2 separate regions of the Homo sapiens genome follow, and region 2 is linked to region 1. The links are contacts of gene promoters, found by promoter capture Hi-C in human tissues and cell types (Jung and others, 2019). All regions are on one chromosome and are shown on one strand. The core of a region is centred on a gene start or on the middle of the fragment in contact, and the rest is flanking DNA. Distances in the headings are between cores, read along the strand shown. Region 1 holds the start of PPP1CC (protein phosphatase 1 catalytic subunit gamma). Region 2 overlaps FAM216A (family with sequence similarity 216 member A).

Evidence for each region. The method cuts DNA at HindIII sites, captures the fragments that hold promoters and counts their contacts. A contact is called where the count stands out against the background at its distance.
Region 2: a contact is called between a fragment that was not itself captured here and the fragment with the promoter of PPP1CC in region 1, in 1 of the 25 tissues and cell types used here (small bowel).

What each region holds. Positions count from the first base shown.
Region 1 is chr12:110,741,561-110,744,185 of GRCh38, forward strand. PPP1CC (protein phosphatase 1 catalytic subunit gamma) reads right to left here and starts at 1,331. Exons shown (of 7, transcript NM_002710.4): 1 at 1,093-1,331. The coding sequence starts at 1,147. RefSeq lists enhancers at 1,056-1,564, 2,326-2,625 and silencers at 1,202-1,261, 1,422-1,561. The HindIII fragment of the contact is 6,938 bases long and covers 1-2,625 here.
Region 2 is chr12:110,484,986-110,487,610 of GRCh38, forward strand. FAM216A (family with sequence similarity 216 member A) reads left to right here. Exons shown (of 7, transcript NM_013300.3): 3 at 93-214; 4 at 1,340-1,469; 5 at 1,549-1,732. The region is part of intron 1 of LOC124903016 (a long non-coding RNA gene); the gene reads right to left. Among named protein-coding and RNA genes, the nearest start is that of VPS29, 16 kb to the right of the region's middle. The HindIII fragment of the contact is 3,710 bases long and covers 1-2,625 here.

The DNA of each region.
Region 1 (2,625 bases), core at 81-2,580:
TCCCACATCAACATGAATCAATTGCCAGGCACCTCACAAGTCTTAGATGAGCCGAAATTTAAAGCTTTCTATTAACCTTTACTTAACCACTGGCCACCTTCCTTCCTACATAAGGTGACAGTGTTGTCTGTAGAGGGTTCTAGCTCCCGGCTATGTGGATTTGAAATCCAACTGTCACTAACTGTGTGACCTTGGTTAAGTGACTTCATCTCAGTTTCTTCTGTAAAATAACAAAAACAAAAAAAATTGCAAATATCTTGCAATGGGTGGGAGAATTAAATGAAATCTGTCTTAAGTGCTCAAAGAATGCCTGACACACAGTAAGCGCTTTAGAAGCGTCAGTTATGATTACAGTAATAATTCATGGACGCAAAGTGCTTAAGACAGAGCCTGGCACATTGGAAAGATAATGATAGCGTCAGCCTCGTTGGCTTCCTCTTCAGATGCACGCTCAGGAAAAGAGCGCGGAGACCTCTCCAAGATTAGAACAACTTAAAAGGATTTGGAGGGCAGGCGAAGACAGGTTCTCACACCTCTTGAGACATGAACGCTTGTTACCAAGTAACAAGAAATGGGCCCCCCAAGACCCCAGAACCACGAAAAATAAAAATAAAAGCAAGCAGGAAAAGAGCCCCCAAACCCGGCGGAACTCATGCCCTCATCAAACTGCCTTCCGAGAGGACGAGCACCGAAAAGTCCATCTCGCACAGCACGGCACACGTCGTCCAGGAGGCTGGACTGGGATCCCCAACCATCGCTCCAAAGACCCGTCCAGTGCGCGGGGGCAAACGGGTAGGGGCGGGAAACGTGGGGGTGGGGAGCGGAGTTTTCAAATTCCACGGCCGGGAGGAAGCCTGCATCCTCGTGCAATGAATGAGCGGAGCCTGGAGGGTCCGCAGCTGGCGACAAGTTGGGAATCCCGGGCTGGCCTCCCTCCGGCTGCAGTCCCCGGCCCGTGGGCCAACTCGAGGAGCTCACTCCCCACGGTGCTGCAAGCCCAACCGGCCTCCCAACTCCCCTCCCTCGAGCCCCCGGGGCCGCCTGCCGCCCTCAGGCCCGCCTCCCCCTTCAGCCGCCCGCCGCCCCCCTTACCTTCCAGCAGCCGTTGGATAATGCTGTCGATGTTGAGTTTATCTAAATCCGCCATCGCCTTCCCACCGCCGACCCTCCCGCAGCGGCGCCGCCGCCGGCTCGCGCCCGGGACTCACACCTCCTTTCCCACGCCACGAGCAGAGGCGGTGGTGGCGGCGGTGGCAGCAGCCGCGGCGGGTCCCCCCCCTGCCACCCCGCTCCCTACTTCCTCCTTCTCTCCCCACTGGAACCACGAGAAGAACAAAATGGCCGCCGACTCCTTAGACAGCCTCGGGCGGCGCACGGATGCGCGCGGGGAGTGCAGCGGCCCGGCCGGGACTTCTTTATGGGCCATAGGGGGCGCGGGAGGGGGCGGGGCCCGGGCGCTGGAGGGGGCGGGGCCCGGGCGCTGGGCGGGGCGCAGATGGCTGAGCGCAACCGCGTCCCCGCATGGGATCCTTCCGCCAAACGGGCCGAGTAAATAGGCCCGCCCCCAATGCCGGGCCCGAGCGAGAGTTGCAAAGTTGCACGCGGGAGTTGGGGCTGGGGGAGGAAATGCAGCTGTGCACACCGCCGGTTGCGGCCATCGCCGGATCTTGTGCATTGAGTCTAGATGTTTGCAGACCTGGACAGGTGGGAGCTCACCGAGGGATTTCGGGGGTCCTGGAACTTACCCTTTAAGATAAATCTGGGGTGAGGATGGAAAAGAATAATAAAGAAAAGAAGGTTGACTTATTTTGGATTCAGATATACTGGAACTTGGGACAAGAGAAAGGTTTATTTGGTAACTAAAAAGAAAAAACCCTCTTTCAGATAAGTCAAAATGTAACAGTTAACTCATTGTGAGTGGTGGGTATATGGGTATTTGTATATATATTTTTTGTGCACTTCTGTAACTTTAGGGGTAAAAAATCCATACTCAAAGAAAATTTTATCATTTCTGTCCCTTGGATTTATCTTCCCTGAACTCGGAAAGTTATGTAATCATCGGGACGGTTATCCCGATTCTAGCCAGGGCAAAGTTGAACGAGCGCGTGCAGCAGTTAAAAGGGGAATTTGCAGATTTCACGCGTGCAGGCCGGGGGCGGGAAGAGAAGATGCAAGCTGCGCGGGCGGTCCTGGGTTCTGCAGACACCCGAAGAAACTTTGGCCCATTCCTCTCTGGCTTCCCAGCCTCCCCGAGGGCACTCCTATCCAAGGGGCCCCCAAACTGTGCCACCTCCAGGGGCTGCGCGTCGACTTTGGCTGGGTTTGGAAGTACAGCCCACACTCAGCAAACAGATCGGCTCTCTTTCCTGACCTTTCCATGTACGTTGCTTCCTGCAGCGCTTTACATTTTGCAAAGCCCCCTCTCTCCGAGAAATTCATTTTGTTTCCCAAGGCGTGCAGGATGCACGAATCCCCATCTCAGTATGCCACGAGGTAATTGCACCACCCAGGCATCCTCTTCCAAAGCAATGTCCTCAGGGTGCGGGCTCCATGTCCCCTTACTTGGGCCCCCTCGCTACTGGTGCAGGGCCCTTGAGTTTCAGAACTCAGCCTATCGATCCACTT
Region 2 (2,625 bases), core at 45-2,544, 260 kb before region 1:
CACCACACCCGGCCTAAATATCTAGATCTTAATAATTCAGTTTGTTGAACTGATCTTTGCCTCTGAAATTCACATGATGTCTTTGCCTACAGATAGAATCAAAGATGGATACAAAGTGAACTCACACATAGCTAAGCTGCAAGAGTTATGGAAAACTCCCCAAAATCAAACAATCCACCTCTCTAAATCAATGATGGAGGCGTCCTTTTTCAAGGTATGCTAACAGGGACATATTTAAATACCAATACTCTTTGTATTCAGAGCCGAACTTTTTACTGAAGATCAGCTGCTTAGAGGGTGAGATACTGCAGATGACAAGGCATATGCAGTATAATTGTCTAGGAGTCAATAAATATCTTTGAGTAAACTCATGAATGAATGTAAAGATTATACATTCTTTATCATAAGAGTTATTTCATGGTTTTATGATACTTCATATCTAATGTATCTTTACTGAGGGGAAGCTTAATGCCCCAACCACAGAGATGCTCAAGAAAAGTTCCATCTTTTCTTGAAAATAGAAACCCAACTTCACACATATTTTACTCAAGGACTACAAAATTAAGAAGAAAGCAGGTAAAGAAAATGGCAGTAATTAGCTTGCAAGTAGGATTTAAAAAAAGAAAAATAAATAAAAGAAAATGGCAATAAGGATTTTACAATGGTTACCTGTATCCCATTAACGATCGTAACTGCTAAAAGTATCTCTAGAGCAATGTGAATTAGGGTAAATTTTTCTAACATTTTGCATTTTCTTTGAACTTACCATGTATTCAGTAAAGTAAATCTTGTATATATAGTGGAATCATACATCTTAAGTGAACATTAACTTCTAAATCAGCAAGTGCAATGAAAATCTCAAGTCAAAATTACTTAGAGACTAACATACTATCCCTCAGAATGTCCAACACAGTCAGTTATTCTTCTGGTGCTGGAAAAGAATGTTTCTTCAGTTGAGACTAAGTAGAGTAATTGGATTGATTTTAGGTACCATGTTATACCTCAAAAATCATTTTGAGAAGGCAAGATGCCCACACTGAGAGGCGCACAGCAAGTAACACTTGACAGAACAGCAGATTCGCTCTTTCCTTGTTCATCTAGAGCAATGGGTTCTCCGACTTCAAAGGGCATCTGAATCACCCGAGTGGAATGGCAAGCAGAGCCACTTGCACTGTTTAATTGGCCATTTCTTTCTCTTTTGTCAAGTTAACGTAGTTGAATTTGCTAAAGTAAAATACAGTTGGCACAACTCTCTTGAACATTCATCTCTTCAGATAAGGAATATTGCCAACTTCTCTAATACAATGCAGACTATAAATCCTCTTATTCTGTCTTTTAGCATCCAGACCTCACCACAGGCCAGAAGCGTTACCTGTGCAGCATTGCTAAAATCTATAATGCAAACTATCTGAAGATGTTAATGAAGAGGCAGTACATGCACGTACTTCAGCACAGCTCACAAAAGCCAGGCAGGTGCACCTCCAGTTGTCTTTTCACTAGTTTTTACAATTAGTGAGAGGGTCTTTTAACAGGTGATTTGTATCACAGGTGTCCTCACTCATCACAGAAGCCGCCTTAGCTCCCGTTACTCACAGAAACAGCATTACCCTTGCACTACATGGCGACATCAACTGGAGAGAGAGGACTCGGGGTCTTCTGATATCGCAGCTGCATCTGCACCTGAAATGCTCATACAGCATTCCCTTTGGCGGCCAGTGAGAAACAAAGAAGGGTCTGTTTCTTAGTGTAAAAGGGGGGAAATGCATCTCAGTTTAATTTTTTTTTTTCTCAGACAGGGTTTTGTTCTCTCACCCAGGCTGGAGTGTAGTGGTGTGATACAGTTTACTGTATTCTCAAACTCCTGGGCTCAAGCAATGCTCCTGCCTCAGACTCCCAAGTAGCTAGGGCTAAAGGCACAAACCACCATGCCCTGCTAGTTAAAAAAAATTGTTTGTACAGAAAGCATCTCACTATGTTGGCCAAGGTACTCTCACCTCCGCCTCCCAAAGCACTGGGATTACAGGCGTGAGCTACTGTGCCCAGCCTTCCCCATCTCTTTTGAAGGGTAGCTAAGTGATATTAATGGTTGTGTTCCCTAATATATTCACTTTGCTAAATTCAGAATAGGCTGGACTTTTAAAAAGCAGAGATACTTTTTTTTTTTTTGAGACCGAGTTTCGCTCTTGTTGCCCAGGCTAAAGTGCACTGGCGCGATCTCGGCTCACCGCAACCTCCACTTCCCGGGTTCAAGCGATTCTCCTGCCTCAGCCTTCCTGAGTAGCTGAGATTACGGGCATGCGCCACCATGCCCGGCTAATTTTGTATTTTTAATAGAGACGGGGTTTCTCCATGTTGGTCAGGCTGGTCTTGAACCCCCAACCTCAGATGATCTGCCCGCCTTGGCCTCCCAAAGTGCTGGGATTACAGGCATGAGCCACCATGCCTAGCCGAGAGATATTTTCATACTTTTTCTTTACTGCACTGATAAGAATATGCCACTTCTTTTAGAATATATTTTGTGGAATTATAAAAATTTCTTTATCAGATAGAGTTATGGATGACTGCCCTTTTCAATATAATTCCCACTCAACCTCAAAATAATGCAAATACTTTCAAAAGGAGAAG